Regions from separate parts of the Homo sapiens genome. Here regions 1, 2 and 4 are each linked to region 3. The links are contacts of gene promoters, found by promoter capture Hi-C in blood cells and fetal thymus (Javierre and others, 2016). All regions are on one chromosome and are shown on one strand. Each heading gives the region's core, a stretch centred on a gene start or on the middle of the fragment in contact. The rest is flanking DNA. Distances are from core to core; before and after follow the strand shown. Region 1 overlaps STT3B (STT3 oligosaccharyltransferase complex catalytic subunit B). Region 2 overlaps STT3B (STT3 oligosaccharyltransferase complex catalytic subunit B). Region 3 holds the start of OSBPL10 (oxysterol binding protein like 10). Region 4 has its middle 3.6 kb from the start of STT3B.

Region 1 (4,779 bases), core at 1,798-4,297, 430 kb after region 3:
GCACTGAAAAATCTGCTCTGAGTTACCTTCTTAAAGTTTCAGAGAAATTACACCTTGGAGCTGCTGACGCGGTTTTGGGAAATTCAGACTATCTACACACTTATCTTTCAAGTTTTTGACACGGCCATTAAATCATTTAAAATTTAGTATTATTTTCATCAGGGAAAACAAAACAGCAAAACAAAAACAAACAACAACAACGAGAGATAGTACTAGTTAGACAAAAAGCTATGTAACCACCTGGTTCTTTTTCAAATTACTCTGGTGTTTAAGGGCTTTTGATCAAAAAGATTAAATGACCAAGGCTCATTTTTTCCATTGGCTCAAAAAGTTAAGAACTGGCAGGAAGGGATTCACAAGAAAACAAGATTAATATTGAGTTTTCATTTTTTTAAGGAGAATAAAATAAACCACAATTTGTTTCTTAAAATCTGATTTTTAAACTTTGGTTTACAAATATAGCACTGTGCTATCTCAAACTGTGGTTGGCAAAATTGTAGTTGGAGCAAGACTACTCTACCAACACTTAAACAGATGTCTTTTGTGAATCCTAGAACAGAAAAAGCTAGAAGCTACATAAAGAAAAACACTGAATGTAAGATTCTGTAATAATGCAAATATTTTTCTTAAAAATGCAGCCATAAAATATGGATATAATCTATGAATAGATTATAGATCTCAAATAACTATTCACTTCAGGGCCAATAAACTTGGGCATTCTGCATACAAGTACACAATTCTAAGAACCACAGGCAAACTTGGTCCCTGACCTCACAGAGCTGACAATCTCACAGGAGGAAGAGGCAACAAGAAAATATAATTAAGCAGAGAACCCAGGGGGTACTAAAGGATACCTTCTTCGCTCATTTTTTTTCATTTTTAAAATCTAAAGTATAATTTAGATGCTTTAAAATACACCAATTGACATGTTTCATTAGATGAGGTTTGACAACTGTATGCATAACATCACCCTCATGATGAAAGTTCCCACATGCACCTTTAGGCACTTCTTTCCAAGCATACTTTGACTTCTTTCACCATAGATTCATTATGTTTGTTCTCGGATTTCAGATAAATGGAATAATCGTAATTCTACTTTTTAAAAAGGTGAATCAGGCTTCTTTCATTTAACATGTTTTTGAGATATATTCATATACCAACAGTTTATTCTTTTTTACTGCTGAGTAGTATTCCATTTAATGCATACTACAATCCATTCCCCTTCTGAAGGGCATTTGGGTTGTTTCCGGGGGAGGAAATAATAAGGCTGTACATTCATTCTTATAAAATATGAACAAGCATTCTTGTAAAAGCCTTTTTTAAGGACACAGGTTTTCACTTCTTTGGGTGAATACTTAGCAATTCCACTCCAAAGTTATATAGTAGACACGTATTTAAGAAATACTAAACAGTTCTCCAAAATAGTTACCATTTACACTCCCATCAGCAATGTACAGGAGTTCCAGTTCCTCCCTATCAAGTTTTATTTGGTTTTTTTTTTTTTTTTTTGAGACGGAGTTTCGCTCTGTCGCCCAGGCTGGAGTGCAGTGGCGCGATCTCGACTCACTGCAAGCTCCGCCTCCCGGGTTCACGCCATTCTCCTGCCTCAGCCTCCCGTGTAGCTGGGACTACAGGCACGCGCCACCATGCCCGGCTAATTTTTGTATTTTTAGTAGAGACGGGGTTTCACCGTGTTAGCCAGGATGGTCTCGATCTCCTGACCTCGTGATCCGCCCGTCTCGGCCTCCCAAAGTGCTGGGATTACAGGCGTGAGCCACCGTGCCCGGCCTTATTTGGTTTTAAGAGCCTATCTTATGTATCACACTGGGTGCTAAAGATACTAGCAAACAGGACGGACCTGTCCTCACAAAGCTTACTGTCCAAAGGACTCGTGGATGGCTTCTACAACTGACATCTAACTTAAACCTGGATGAATTATTGAGCAAAAAGGCAGGAAAAGAGGAGAAGTGTTCTTGAGAGAGGAAAGAACACTCGTAAGGGTTAAAAAATACACATAGGTAGTTTTCATAATGCTAACAGAAAATAAAGATAGAACAAGTTTTGTGATGGCAGAAATATGCTTTAAAAAAAAAGGTAAGAAAGCAATGTAGTAAGTATAAGTTTTTAAAAGTCAAATAAGGATTCCTAAAAAGACAATGTGTTTAGTTTATCTCCCTATTATAAGCTCTCATTGTATCATGTTCCTTGACAGCATTGGTCATTCTTACTGGTTCAAGTCTAACTCCCTCACTAAACTAGAATCATGTCTATTTGGGTTCACACTACTGTAGCCATAGTCCCTGGCAAGTAAGAGGTATTCAATCAATATTTTTTGATTACATGAGATCAGAGAGAAGTTAGGTAGTAACATTCAGAGATGGAAAGAAAGGTTTACGAAGGGTATTTGTATTAGTTTCCTATTGCTTATACAGCAATTTTAAACAAACTCAGTGGCTTAAACCAACATATACTAATTCTATCATAGCTTCATGGGTCAGGAATCTAGGCACAGTTTAGCTGGATCTTCTGTTTAGGGTCGCACAAGGTTGACATCAGGATGTCACCAGGGTTGGGTTCTTATGTGGAGGCTAAATTAGGGAAATAATCTGCTTCCAAGCTCACTCAGGCTTCTAGCAGAATTCACTTCCTTGAGGTTATAGGACTGAGGGGCCCTGGTTTCTTCCTGGCTGTTGGTGGAAACATCATAGAGGCTGTTAGTAGTTCCTTGCCACATAGGCTTCCCTAACAGGGCTGCTTATCTTATAATGCCAGCAAGGAGTCTCTGGTGCAAGTCTACTGGTAAGACAAAGTTTTACACAACGTCACATAATCACGGAAGCAACATCCCATCACCCTAGACTCTGTCTATCACTCTGTTCTTCAAAGACTATCAATTAACAGGCTCTCTTGAAAATAACCCTTTCTGTAAAGATTTACAAAGCCACCTATAACAGTTTGTTGTTACACATACGACTACCAAAACTGGCCAAGTTAACATGTATTCGTGGGAACGGTAAATGAGAAAGCGACTAGTACCACCAACAGAAATGACCAATTATGGATGCTAACGTAAGCATAAAAGAATCAGGAAAGAGGCCAGGCACAGTGGCTCATGCAGGTAATCCCAGCACTCTGAGAGGCCAAGGTGGGTGGATCACTTGAGCCCAGGAGTTCAAGACCAGCCTGGGCAACATGGCAAAACCTGTCTCTACCAGAAATTTTTCAAAATTAGCCAGGCGTGGTGGCATGCGCATGTAGTGCCAGCTACTTGAGAGGCTAAGGTGGGAGGATCATTTGAGCCTGGGAGGCGGAGGTTGTAGTGAGCCGAGATGACACCACTGCACTCCACTGTGGGTGACAGAACAAGACCCTATCAAAAACCAAACAAACAAACAAACAAACAAACAAAAAACACCCAAAAACCACAATCAGGAAATAAAGGAAAGGAGTACAATTCAACAAAGGGAGAAGAAAAATAGAAAAGTAAAAGGCAAAAGACAAAGTGTTAGAACACCTCAAGGATTATTCTATTCTTTCTCCTTTACCCTATTAGTAGGCCCTCTCAGGCTATATAAGGTACCAGATCTTTCTTATAGGACTAAGTACCACTATTTGCAACACTTCATATATACCCAAAATTCAGCACTAATAGGGACAGAGAACAACCAAGGTAAAGTACAAAGCAGCTAAGGCCAACTAAAGTTGGCATTTCAATCTACCTTTTATTGCTCCTGCCATCTAGTGGCAGGATCAAAAACAAAAGGATGCCAGACTGATGAACTCTATTAAAAGTAACACATGGAAAAAAAAAATCCCCCTTCAATAGAACGAAAAAAACAGCCTAAATTCAATCTCACCAAGTGATACACACGAGCACTGTCTAGATAATCACATTAAACATAGCCAATTTTATAACTTAAAATATGGAAACTCATGAGAGAGTTATGCTCAAGCCTAATATGATTACATAAATTCCTATCAGTGTTTAAGTAACAGCAGGAAAACAATGATAGAAATTCATAAGGATTACTAATGATATATGAGAATAACTTTTTTTACTAGGTTAACTCTGAAGGGAAAGACTCACAAATGTCATACCACCATAAATGTGACACTGTACAGTTGCAACTGGATCTCAGACTACTCTCACAAACCTCTCTCTCTGCTCTTGCAACTGATGGGTGGTCATTTTGATTGAAGCAGAGAGCATGTCATAAGCTTCAGATAACAAAGTACCTGTCTCTCTACTTTGAGCAACACAGAGAGAAAACCAAAGGTTGTTTAAAGGCTGCAAAAATGTCTTGAAGACTCCTTAGAGCTACTCTGCATCTTCCAATTTAAAGTCAGATGCATGTGCAAATCAAAAAAGAACACACAGGGCAAAACTTTTAAACACACATTAACTGAAAACAGGATTCCTATTTTAGTACCATCTCTTAATTTCTGCCTTAACTGGCAGTGACAGCTGTCAATTTTTATCAGTATCCATTTGAAAAAGGAGGGTCTATTCTGATTTATAAAGGACATTTACTAAACTAATTGGAAAAAAGAAAAAGCAACTGACAACAAAAAAAATTACAACAAAATAAGAGGCTGTTAGAGCATTTTAATGGCACTAAAAAAATCTGAAAAAAAAATCTAAGATCACATACAAAATAGTATATTTGATCAATTAAAACTATCCGGTGACACTTTGCTCAGCTAAGCCCAATAGAGATGGAAATCTAAATAATGTAGGCAGAAGGGATGGGCACAAGTGTTCTTTCTCTTTATATAACG
Region 2 (4,232 bases), core at 1,619-4,118, 380 kb after region 3:
ATTTTGTACTTTATAACACACAAGTGTTATTTCTCCATTATGTTTCTCACAACCAAAAATAGTTGAGTGAAAGTTTATTTTCACTTAAAAAAAAAAGAAGGAACACTCCTTAGATTCACACTGGGGTTTTATCCTTTCAGTCTTAATACAGTAATCACCTCTCTTAGCCTCTTGAACTCTTTTGTCTATCTGGCTATTCCTTCATAACTTTAACATCAACAACAAAAGCAAACACTTAAATAGTATTTTTTTGTGTTCATCTATTATTAAGCACCTTTCATATATTAACCTGTAACTCATTAATCCTTAACAATCTGTAAGGTAACTATTATTATCTTTATTTGACCCATGAGGACATTAAGGCCTAAGGACATCAAAGGACATTAATTTGTCCAAAGTTACACAGTAGTAAGGGAGCAAGAATTGAACCCTGGTAGATTGGCTCTGGAGTATGTACTCTTACCCTCAATGTCATGGCACCTTTTATTTATGGTTACATTACCACAAATTCTAAGTCTGCTTCTGTACTATTCTCTCTTCTCAAGATCAAGACTTATCTCCAAAACTTTTAAAAGAACATGGTTAAAGTCCAAACTGATTTTCACAAATTTTTCCCTATTTCCATTTTGATCATATGCTATTAAATTGATTACACTGTATAATATACACTCCTTACACGAAGGTTTTTATTCATCTTTGTATCATAATGGCTAGCACAAAACAGTATTTATTTTTTCAACACTTAATAAATGTATGGTGAGTGAAATTTGCTTTAATTTCCTCAGTAGTATGGTAGAATTAGACAAAATAAACTCCAGAGCTTCCAGCCCTTGTATCCGGGAACTTTTCTTTTTTTAATGCTGGATTTTTTACATGCAATCTTTTTAAGTTTGTTTTTTCTAAGTTAAACTAGCATTAGCTGTGTTCTGTTTACAGCTGCCAAGTATAAATGTGACTCCTAATAATTTGGCTTTACTTTTAATGTACTCAATAATTGGATTATCTTTTCTTTATTCACAAAATATATAATGCCCATAATAATTTGTACAGAACTAAAGTAGGTAGTATGTTCAAAAAACTTTAATGACGGTTCCCAGCAAATATCATCTAAAAAATACATTTTAGATATAATATGAAAAACAACTGTTACTCTCCTTACTCAACTCACTGCAGAAAACATAGACAATGCCATAAACAAGCTGTTCTAGTGACATTTCAAAAGCATTCATCAATATTAGAAATTGATTTCTTTTCTGTGCTTAAATTACTAACCTAATCTAGTTAATGCAGCCCTTGAGGTACAATTCCTATTTCTATAAACTAAAAACCAAGTCTTATTTATTATAAACTTAACACATACTCATTGTATGTATCTGGAAAGCAGAAATAAGTATGAAAAAAAATCACTGGTAATCCTTACTGTCTGCTTTTAATTAACATTTTCCTGTGTCATCAAATACTCAAAAAGATTAAATTTAAAGGCTGCATAATATTCCATATGGCAACACTGCAATTAAAAAATCATTCCCCTATTGGTCATTTAAGTTAGTTCCATATTTTCACAATTACAAGTTATACCACAGTAAATATCCCTAAATTTGACTTCATATCTTTAATAATTTCCTTATGACATGAACACAAAGTATGATAAGCTTTAATCAAATTAGAAAGCTTAAATCACTTCACATCCCATCAGTTTTACTGTGATTTCCTGCAAGCCATTCTTTCTACAAATGCAACATAAGGTTTGGGTGTTCCTTTTAAAACAGTAGAATCCTATGCATAACATAATTTTTAAACATTTACTTCCCAATATAGTGAAATTCACCAAGTCAAAAATATCTCTTAACAGAAAATTAAATTTTTCCTCCCAAAATTTCAAGTAGAGACGGCCTCCCATCTCAGCTTTTCTTACACCTCCCTTGCTCAATTCCCATGCCACTCTTCTACCACTATACATCCACATTACCACCCATGTGCCTCCTTTTCCACATGTGAATAAACTTTGACAGTTTTCTGTGGTTGTGCTACAATTGATTTTAAGGACACTTGAAAAAATCTACTCAAAGAGGACACAACTTTTTCATAATTATTTAAAATAATTCAAGTCATTTAATTCAACACTTAGAACAACACAACTAAACTTTTAGTTAATATAATTATGAGTCTGACATTTATCAATCCTTATTTTTTTTTACCTAAACATTTCTGCTCAAGGGGAGAGAGAACAAAAGACAAAGGATGTTACGTGCCAAAATCAAAGAACTTTATATACAAACACTTTACAATGCTTCCATAGTTTTTAGGACCATTAAGTTAAGAGAAATTGAACTTAAATCCTGACACACTCTGGATGAAGGAAGAGCAACACTTGCTCTATCATACTACTTTCCATCCATTTAGAAGTAAACCCTAAGAAAGCAGACTAGAAATCATCAAAATACTCCTGGATAATTATAAGTAAAAGAAACAAGTTGGGTAGAGTGGAGAATTTGAACATTATGAACATTAGCTTTATACACACATACATCCCTAACCCATTTTATTATTCTTTCTTCTTAAAATACTCTCAAGAATCAACCAAAGTAGTATGAATTTCATATTTTTCTAGAGTGACCAAAAAAAAAAAAAAAAAAAAAATCCCAGCTACCAAATACAAAGGCCTTTCTCAAATTCTAATCCTTTGAAATCTTGGTGCTAAGGTTAAAGGGGAGTTGGACACTGCTTGAATTTTAAACTTTTATGTAGAATATACTTCCATCTGACCATTTTAACAATATACTTATTTGACTACTTCTGACATCTCCTTTGGCTCTTCTTCCTGAATCATGGCATTTCATAAAGTGTATTTCTCAATCTTCTCTCTCTTGTATTCCTCTGACCATTAAATTTCCAAGATCCCCAATTTTTAAATTTACACAAAACAACAACAACAGCAGCAACAACAAAACACCCTCTTAGTTCCTTCACTGTAACCATTTAACTTAAAAAAAAAAAGTTTAATCTGTTATTTATTATTCTCCTTTCTGGATCCCAACTACTGTTTATAGTGTTTTTGGGGTAGAGAAATACATAGGTGTATGTATTTCAACAGTACGGTTATTTGTTTAAACGAGAGGCACACAGATTTGGTGGTTTTTAGCATCATGGGCCATTCATTCAGTCATTCATGCAATCAGAGACAGGTCTCCTTCTGTCACCCAGGCTGGAGTGCAGTGGCAAGATCACAGCACACTGCAGTCTTGAACTCCTGGACTCAAGTGGAACTCCAGCCTCAGCCTCCTGAGTAGCTGGGATAAGAGGTGTGAGCTACTACAGCTGGCTCATTACAGGCTTTAAAGCCAAAATCTGAGTTCAAGCCTCAGCCCCGTTATTAGCTACATGATCTTTAGCAAATTATTATGTCTCCTCTTGTTTCCTCACCTGTAAAATGAGAATAGTACCTACCCTCACAGTATCAAATGAAAAAGTATGCTGAAATGGCTATAAATGTAATATACTATGCTTTTTTATTTTGTTGAGATACAATTAATATACTATAAAATTTATCTTTTAATAACCTATCATGTAATGGTTTTTGGTGTATTCACAAGGTTGTGCGACCATCACTACTATATAATTCTAAAATATTTCCTCATCCTTGAAAGAGACCCCATATCCATTCAACAGTCACACCTCTCCTCTCCTCTCCACATTCTCCTCCTCCTAAATCCCCAGGCAACCACTAATCTACTTTCTGTTGCTATGGATTTACCCATTCTGGACATTTCCCACAAACTCTACTTTCTGTTTCTATGGATTTGCCTATTCTGGACATTTCACACTAACAGAATCATATACTATGTGGCCTTTTATGTCTGGCTTTTTTACATAATGGTATAAAGTTTTCAAGGTTCATGTTGTAGCATATATCAGTATTTTATTCCTTTTCATGGCTTAATAATACACCATTGTATGAATATACCATATTTTATGGTTTCATAAAGCTGATAGACATTTGGGTTGTCTTCATTTTTGGCCATTATGCACAATAAATGCTGCTATAAACATTCACATAGAAGCTTTTGTATGAATATATGTTTTCGGTTCTCTTGGGTAAATACCTAGGAGTGGAACTGCTTGGTCATATGACGAATCTATGGTTAACTTCTGAGAAATTGCCAAGCTACTATGCTTTTGAAAATGAATTTAATTAAGATTTATCTTTGTGTTATTGTTTTCCAAAAACATTA
Region 3 (4,347 bases), core at 972-3,471:
CCACTTGAACTGGTCTATCTCAAGGGTCTAATTTTTTAGTCCAAGGTGAGAATTTGTTGTGCTAGCTCATTCAGTCTTAGGTTGGCTGCATAAGGTGGAGTAATGGTGGCATAGGTTAGGTAATATGAAATAAAATGACACTTCTCCTCTTTTAGCAGGAGCTTAAGGTGGCAGTCTCCAATAAAAGGCATGTTGTTTTGGTACATAATGCTGACATTTATAGTCCAGTATGCACCTACCTTCCCACCTTCAGTCTGTATGTCAATGCAGGACTCAATGAACACTCATATATGATCAGTAAGTTAGCTTAGGCAAAGCTATGCTGTGGTAAAAAATAATGCTAAAATCTCAATGGCTTCAAACAAACATTTTGTGCATGTTACATGGCCAACACTAACTGGCTTAGGATCTGCTGTATTCCACACCTTCTCACTCCAGGACACAAGCTTAAGGAGAGTCCTTATCCGGGACATGCTGCTCTCCTGGGATAAGGAAAAGAGAAAGATGGTGGAACCATATGACTGCTCTTAAAGCTTATGTTTGGAAGGGGCATTCATTACTTCTGTTCACATTCCATTGCTCAAAGCAATTCCATGGCCAAGCCTAAGGTCCATGTGGAGGAAGGATACTCTTTCCATAGGAAGCGGCAGTAAATATTTTGAACAAATGAACATTCTTGCATAGTTTATTACAGCCGGTATCATTTGTCCCATTTTGCAGTGAGAAAACTAAGGCTAAAAGAGGTAATTTGATCAAGGTCATAGGTTAGAATTCAGCTCTGAATGGCTTCAAATTTGGTCCAGGCAAGCTCTTTTCAGATTTTTTTTTTTTTAACACTATGTAGGCACCTGGAATTGTAATTTACTCAGGGGCACAACCACTTCTCTTCAACTCCAGAAGCTTCTCCGTGCATCTCTAGAGCTAAACCACCCATGAAATCTTCCTGGAAGGATGTGAAGCTAGAAAGGGGTTGGGCTCGGGGAACTGTCCCTTTGAGAGCTGACTTTTCCATTTAGTAATTTTTTTTAACTCTTGAAGTATTTATCTGCTTGATGGGTTTGTAGATCCTTTGGACGGAGATCACCTATCATCTATCACCTTTTGTTTTGTCTGTGTGTGTGTGAGAGAGAGAGTCTGAGTTCCTCAAAGCTTTTTTCTAGGTAATTTTTGATACTTCAGATTACAATGGATATCTATATTCACAAAAAATATTAGTGGGATAGAAAGAGTATCTTTAGGTAGGAAGAGGGGCGCAGAAGTTACAGCCAACACAGAGAATCCTTCAATGTTTGTAAATATCTGTTAATTTCCCTTGCCTCTGGAGCAGTTTTCCCGGTTTCAGAGCCTCTGCTCCTAGGTGCACGTGCAGTGTGGTAGCAATGGATAGGTTTTGACTTGCCAGGTTTATGCGTGCCATTCAGGGCAGGGGATTAGGGTTAGGCCAGTGAGTGACCTAGGACACTCAATTTAAGGAAGCACTCGCACAAACCTGAGAGTTCGCGCGCCTCACCCCAGCCCAGCCGTGTGTCTGTTAAGCATTTATCATAATCCTGCTGCATGAAAATGCCCGGCGAGCTTACCTGTGAGGATCACCTGCCACTCCCCTCCTCCGCCAGACAACGCGGAGGGCCTCCCTGAGCTGTGACTTTGCTCCGCCGGTGATAATTTCCAGGTTACTGTGTAGGAGCGTCTGGCGCAGCATCGTGTGCGGAAGACCGAGAGAGGGAGTGTGCGTGTGAGCCTGTCAGGCCGGGCGGGTCCATATCCGGGTGGACCGGGTGGGTGGGGCTGCCCCTCCCTCCAGGTCCCGAGGTGGATAAGGGGTGGGGAGTGACGTGCAGAGATTCCCTTTCGCCCCTTCGGATCCAAGAGAGGGTGGCAGAAGGAATGCGTGGGTGACTTGGCGTGGATTTAGGGCGTGCCCACCCTGCAGATCGGCCTCCTAGAGTGTCCCGAGGGCCTGAGAGGCCGCAGGGACACGAAGGAAGAGAAGGAGGAACCCGAAGAGGGCTCGCCTAGCCGGCCACCCGCTCCGAACTTGCCCGGGAAACTAGTGCGGAGGGAGGGGCCGGGCCCTGGCCGCGGCGGGAGGAGGGGCGGCCGCAGCTGCATCCAGCCCCGTTGGCTTCCTTCCCAGCTCTCCTTCGCCTCCTCCTCCTCTTCCTCCTGTATGAGTCAGGCATTTCCCGGGGATTTGGAGCAGGCACGCGCGGCCCGGGCGTCCGGAGCTGTAGCAGCAGCAGCAGCCGCCGTGCCGGGGCCGCCACCGCGGCGGGCACCCGCGTCCCGGGCGCCCACGGACCATGGAGAGGGCAGTCCAGGGCACAGACGGCGGCGGGGGTAGCAACAGCAGCAGCCGCAGCAGCAGCCGTGCTACCTCGGCGGGCTCCTCGCCCTCCTGCTCTCTGGCGGGCCGGGGGGTCTCCAGCCGGTCGGCGGCGGCCGGGCTCGGCGGCGGGGGAAGCCGCAGCAGCCCGGGCTCTGTGGCCGCTAGCCCGTCCGGGGGAGGCGGCCGCAGGAGGGAGCCGGCGCTCGAGGGCGTGCTCAGCAAATACACCAACCTCCTCCAGGGCTGGCAGAACAGGTAACGCGCCAGCCGCCCGCGCCACCGCGCGCCGCTGTGTGTGTGTGTGTGTGTGTGCGTGCGTGTGTGTATGTGTGTCTGTGTATGTGTGTGCGCGCGCGATTGTGCCTTCAGCGAACCCAGTGATGCCTCCCAACGGTGCCCTTCCTGCGTCCCTGCTCCCCTCCAGGTGGGGTTCTCAGGATGGGGCGCGCCGTGGCTCCACCCCGGGACCGCACCGCAGTGGCGGGGAGGGAGGCGAGAGCCCTGGTTTTCTTCTATGCTGGCACCTGCAGAGACTGGAGTGGTGGCAGGAGGATCGTGCTGGTCCCCGTGCTCTGCTTGTCCGCGGTTTCCCGCACGCCTGAAGAATGACTGGGAAAGGGAGGCAGAAGGGGCGTGCTTTGTGCCGGGGTGAAAAAGCGTTAGCACGTCCGCTCCGATTACAGTAATTCTCTAAGTAACAGTTCATTTTAAAGTTTGGTGTTTCAGAACACCACCACCATCAACAAAAAACCTGCCACTTGTCATCCTGGGCGACTGTGCATACTCCTGCCCCAGTTTGTGCCTTGCAGCCTCCGATGTTTGTAATGGAAGTTTTGTTTAAAAACAGAAAGAGGCCGGGCGCGGTGGCTCACCTCTGTAATCCCAGTACTTTGGGAGGCCGAGGCGGGCAGATCACGAAGTCAGGAGTTCGAGACCAGCCTCGCCAACATGGTGAAAACCCGTCTCTACTAAAAACAAAAAAAATTAGCCGGGCGTGGCGGCGCGCCTGTAATTCCAGCTACTCCGGAGGCTGAGGCAGGAGAATCGCTTGAACCCCGGAGGCAGAGGTTGCAGTGAGCCGAGATCGCGCCATTGCAATCTAGCCGGGGCGACAGTGCGAGACTCCGACTCAAAAAAAATAAATAAATAAAATAAAATAAAATAAAATAATAAAAAGAAAGAAAAAATACCCTCCCCCTTTTAATATTAGTAGCAATTTACATTATTATCATTATTTCCTCTTCAGGTCCCATTTGAAGTTTCCTGCTCACTTCCCCCTTGCAGTTGAGAAGCCTAGTTATGGACACGTGGAAGGATGGGGCTGTCGAGGAAAGGGGCTCAGGAGGCACTTGGAATGGTGGTAGTGTGTGTGATCTGCCATCGTGAGGAAGACAAGAACAGATGTGGCACTACTGTTTACTTTTTGTTTTTGTTTTTTTTTTCAATTTGTTTTCCAAAAACAAGCCAGAGGGAAATACAAGTGTCAGTGCGAGGAGAACAATGCTTTTTGGAGAGGTGGTTGGTGGGATATTTTGTCCTGCCTATTTAACAGTCTCCAGATCTTAATAGACTTGGGGCTCTTAAGGATGTTTGTGAGATTTGAATTATACCCTGGAAAGTTGCTTATCTCTGCTGCATGGACTATATTACTTGGTTATCTCTTCCTGTAGATTGTTTGGAAATGTTCAGATTTGCTTCCATCTGAAACATATCAGCCAGTTATCTGCACGAAACTCAACTTGGAGGAAGAGGTCTTTTGAAGTATGGAAACTGAGTTGTTTCTATATTGATATTCTACATATAGGACTTTCTGAGTCACCTGGGCTTCCTGGGAGATGTGTTACTATGTTAGTGGAAGTTGCACTTAACTTTTGAATCCTTTTATTTCTCAAAATAGTCCTAGTGTCTGCTGTTGCCTCTCCCTTCCCCTTTCAATTCGTGAAAGCTGAAAAAGAATAGGTAGAATGCGTAGGTAGAGGGAGATATGAGATGACTAAATCTGATTTCAGTTCTTGGTA
Region 4 (4,337 bases), core at 38-2,537, 450 kb after region 3:
AATTGCTCTTATATAAACCCCATAGAAAGTACGGAGCTTTCGGCGTAATCGGTGCTCAGTAAATACTTGTTCATGTCAATTCACAGCTAATTGTACATTTTATTAGGTAAGTAACATCTGGATATTAAAGGGCATATTAATGTAAAACTATAAAGGCCCTGAATTATTTTCTTAGGTGATTTAAATTTTTCTCTTTAACTACAAATTGTGTTTCAATATTAATAGAAGTCTTAAAATATTAGATAAATGAACCCTAGTTATTTTGAGGTAGCTCCTTGAAAGTAAGGCAACTCCAGCTACCCTTTTAACCTGCTAAGTGGTTACGTTTTGTCTTGTTTCCTTAAAAAAACCATAAATAGTCTTATTAAGGAAATAATGAAAAGGTTTCCAGAAATAGACTTTCTCACCAACAGTTTAATAGCCGACATTTATTGAACGTACACATTTTAATGAGAATTAGGATAAAATATTAACTGCCTCTGTTATACAGAGAAAGATGACATGCTTTTCCTCATAGCCCAAACGGTACATGCTGAAATGACAGCAGAGGATTTTTGTCTGTGTTCCCTGAACCAAAGTTTTATCAGTCTAAAATAAAATTTGTGTTTTTATTTTAATTTGTTTGGATATTTCTATTTTATTGTCTTTGTGTATCTATTCCCTAGTAAGTTCTACGTTATCTTCTTTTGCTTCCTGTTTTGGCTGTTTAATGGCCATAGGCCTGATCTGAAAAGTGACAAAGTGAAATAGTCCCAAATTGTTGCTTACTAGTCATGTAGCATTGGACAAGTCACCTGCATGGGTTGCCCTTTCTGCTCTTAAAGTCAGTTGTTAATATTAAAAAAGCTTATCTGAAAGCATTTTAGGAAATTGTTAAGGAACGTGCAAATACAGGGTAGTGGTAAAGGTGAAAAGCCCTACGAAAACCCCTTGATTTTTGACCTTCATTTATTCACTCATTCATTCAGCAAGTATATATTGAACTCCTTTATGCCGACCACTGTGAGTGAACTGGGATGCATGGGGATTCAGCTAGGAACAGGAAAGACAGGGCTCCTACTCTCAGAGAGTTCACCAGCCAGCCCTAGGAAGGGAGGTATTAACCAAATCATCAGATGGTTCAGGACCAAAATGCAGGGTGACAAACACTGTGGAGGACAGGCACATGGGGAATTTGATCTACACCAGAAGGATGAGAAACATTACCCTGAGGAAGCAGCACTGGAAGTGATGATGAACGGACGAGGAGAAGGAGAATGGAACGCGTTACATAGAGAAGCACGTGCAAAGGCACTGCAGTGGGGCAGGGGAGGCATACGAGTAACCCAGAAAAGTGGCTGCAATGCAGACAGTGGGACAAGGTGCAGTAGGAGTCAAAGGAATGGCCGGGTAGTGTAGGTCCTTTTAAGAGGTGTTTTTTGCTTCATGTTAACTTCAGAATATTGAGAAGCCATAAAGGGTTTTAAGCAGCATGTAGTGTATTTGAGATAGAGGGAGAGAGTTGATCAGATGTGTGTTTTGAAAAGATTACCAAGGCTGCAATGTGAAAAGCATTTTGGAGAGGAGACCAGTAAAAGCTCTACCTGAGAATTCAGAGATTACTTTTGTGAGGAATATGCTATTGTGGAACCACTAGAGAACCCATAAAAATAAATTGCAGCATTGTGAATTCACAATTTCTAGCCTATCAACTTGGAAAAATTGTTTACAGTTTGTGATGAAGCTTGAATGTGTTTGCCCCTTTGCACTTGAGGTTCTAATCCTGCTAGGTGCTTGTAACATCCTCCTGAGTTCAAATATCTCAGGAGTCAATCAAACACTATGGGTGCAACATGATGAGCAGAGTGGTGTGACATCAGAGGCCCAGCTTCCAGGGGAAGGGAGTATTTGAGTTGAAACTTGAGGGGTGAGCAGAAGTTCACAAGACACACCAGGAAGAGGGATGGGGGATTCCAAGAAGGAACGAGGAAGTCCTTCAAATTAATACACAAAGTTTAATATTAATGAAGGTGCATTGGGAGATGAGACTGAAAGAGGGATAAGAACCAGATTATCAAGGACTTGTCTGCCTGGTAAAGGAGTTTATTATTCTGTAAGCAGCTGGGATTCATTGAAACATTTTGAACAACAATAACATGATCAGACTTGGTTGATGGAAGAAAAAAATTGACAGTAGTATGAAAGATGTACTGGAAAGGGTGAGAGTGGAAGCAGAGAAACCAATAAGGAAGCATTTACAGAAATTTAGGCAAGAGAATTAGGTACCAAAACTGGGACAGTAGGGCTCAGAGAGGAGAGGACTGATAGGAGAGGTATCAAGAGGGTAGAGTCCAGAAATTGGTGATTGGGGTAAAATAAAAGTAGGGTTTAGGACAAATCTGGAGTTTCTGGTTTAGTTATTTGGATGGAAAGTGATGTCTCAGAAATAGGGAGCAAAGGACAAGCAGCAGATTTGGAGGGGAGATGATCAAATCAGCTTTGGAGATGTAATGTTTTAAGTCCCTGTAGGACATCCAAGAGGAGCTGGATAACAGACACTTAAAGAGATGTGATGTTCAGGAGGAAGGGTTTTCTGGGATAAAGGCTTGGGACTCCATGGCTACGGGTGAAATTTTGCTGGAATCAAGGCTATAGACAAGGAGACAAGGGTTGAGGATAGAGCCCTAAGGACTTTCCAAATTTAGATGTGCCTACAGGGAGCCCAAGATAGAGCAATGTCCCAGCAGTGAAGAAAGGGAAATAAAGTGAAGTCAGAAGCAGCACAAGGTACAGAGAAATGGAGTGTGACACAGCTGAAAAGTGTACCTTTCTTTTGGCAACCAGGAGTTCACCAATTACTTTAGCAAGGTCAATTTTAGTGGAGTCATAGGGGCAGAAACCAGATGGCAGCAGGTGAGAAGGGATCAGTGGCAAGGGATGTGGAGGCAGAGAATGTATACCACCCTTTCTAAAAGTCTGGTTTCAAAAGCACAGACAGGACCAAATCAGACCAAGAAAAAACTAAATTACGATCCGCAGTCCCTAGCCTTTCCCACAGTGATCAAGAAAAGATTTAAGTGCCTGTGATGTGTCCCAGGAATGACACAGGTCGGAGAGTGGGTTTCATTCTTCCTAGAGAAACACAAACAACAAGACATGTACGCTTGTACTAGACACACCACACTAGGGGGCTGCTACGGTCTACAATATAATTGACATTTGCAAATATCTGGTAACTGAGGGAATTCCCAATGCTTATATTGTCCCTTTCTGACAAGCACCTGTCAAAGAACCTCCCTGGTAGTCCATAGCCCCAGTAGAGGAGAGAAGCAGAGAGGGAGAAAAAAGATTTGAGCTAGGTATGCTGCTAAGTGGTACTGTGTGGTGGTTTAGAGCACAGGCTCTGCAGACACGCTGGGTACCAAATCTTGACTTTAGTTCTTCTGAGTCACATGGCTTTTGGCAAGCTACTTCCCATCTCTGCTCCTTGGTATCCTCATCTTTACAGCGTAGATAAGCACTGAACCTTTCTCTTAGGGTTATAAGAAGAAATAAATGAATCAATACATGAAAATAACTTAGGACAGTGCCTGGCGCAAAGGAAATATTCAATATATGTTGGTTATTAACAATATCACTGGTACTACTGCTATATTCAGAACCATGACAGATGGGCTATGAGACTTACTCCCCTGGATAGCCTTAAAATAATTCTCCATGACCCGAGCCCATACGAGTGCTTCTTTATTTCTTTAAGCCAGAAAATGCCTGCTTCAAATAAAACACCTTACAAAGTTAGGCAATACCTAGCTGCTGATAATGAATAATAACCTCCAATTTATAATCCAATAGAACTGGGGTCTGCAACTTTTTTTGTAAAAGGCAACACAGTAAATATTTTCATCTTTGTGGGCCATGCTGTCTCAGGCTACTACTCAACCCTGTTGTTGTAGTGTGAAAGTAGCAATGGACAATATGTAAGAGAACAGGCATGGCTGTTCTTCAGTAAACACAACCACACCTGCAGACCAGAGTTTGTTGGCCTTTGCGGTAGATGATAAGGGGATTGCTGTGATCTAATCTAGCTCAAAATCCAGTATGAGGCAGAGAATGTTTTCTATCATGATCACTGTGAAGAGTGAGAGCTTGTGTCTGGGCAGTCATCAAGGACATGTTCATGAAGTGATTGGCCTTAAAGAATAGGTAGAATGTTGGCCGGAAGCTGTGGCTCACGCCTGTAATCCCAGCACTTTGGGAGGCCAAGGCAGGTAGATCACAAGGTCAGGAGTTTGAGACCAGCCTGGCCAATATGGTGAAACCCCCATCTCTACTAAAAATACAAAAATTAGCCGGGCATG

Evidence for each region. The method cuts DNA at HindIII sites, captures the fragments that hold promoters and counts their contacts. A CHiCAGO score of 5 or more calls a contact.
Region 1: a fragment that was not itself captured here is called in contact with the fragment with the promoter of OSBPL10 in region 3 in 1 of 17 cell types (endothelial precursors); the score reaches 5.2 in endothelial precursors.
Region 2: a contact is called between a fragment that was not itself captured here and the fragment with the promoter of OSBPL10 in region 3, in 1 of 17 cell types (endothelial precursors). The highest score is 5.2, in endothelial precursors.
Region 4: a contact is called between a fragment that was not itself captured here and the fragment with the promoter of OSBPL10 in region 3, in 1 of 17 cell types (naive B cells). The highest score is 5.1, in naive B cells.

Annotation. Positions count from the first base shown.
Region 1 is chr3:31,549,832-31,554,610 of GRCh38, reverse strand. All of the region lies in intron 1 of STT3B (STT3 oligosaccharyltransferase complex catalytic subunit B), which reads right to left. Among named protein-coding and RNA genes, the nearest start is that of STT3B, 19 kb to the right of the region's middle. The HindIII fragment of the contact is 2,346 bases long and covers 1,875-4,220 here.
Region 2 is chr3:31,601,069-31,605,300 of GRCh38, reverse strand. The region is part of intron 5 of STT3B (STT3 oligosaccharyltransferase complex catalytic subunit B); the gene reads right to left. Among named protein-coding and RNA genes, the nearest start is that of STT3B, 70 kb to the right of the region's middle. The HindIII fragment of the contact is 2,390 bases long and covers 1,674-4,063 here.
Region 3 is chr3:31,979,136-31,983,482 of GRCh38, reverse strand. It overlaps OSBPL10 (oxysterol binding protein like 10), which reads left to right and starts at 2,221. Exons shown (of 12, transcript NM_017784.5): 1 at 2,221-2,584. The coding sequence starts at 2,304. ZNF860 (zinc finger protein 860) reads right to left here and starts at 1,733. Exons shown (of 2, transcript NM_001137674.3): 1 at 1,581-1,733. RefSeq lists a silencer at 2,462-2,531 and an enhancer at 4,086-4,135. The HindIII fragment of the contact is 3,310 bases long and covers 1,152-4,347 here.
Region 4 is chr3:31,527,191-31,531,527 of GRCh38, reverse strand. No RefSeq gene overlaps it. Among named protein-coding and RNA genes, the nearest start is that of STT3B, 3.6 kb to the left of the region's middle. RefSeq lists an enhancer at 4,177-4,337. The HindIII fragment of the contact is 877 bases long and covers 849-1,725 here.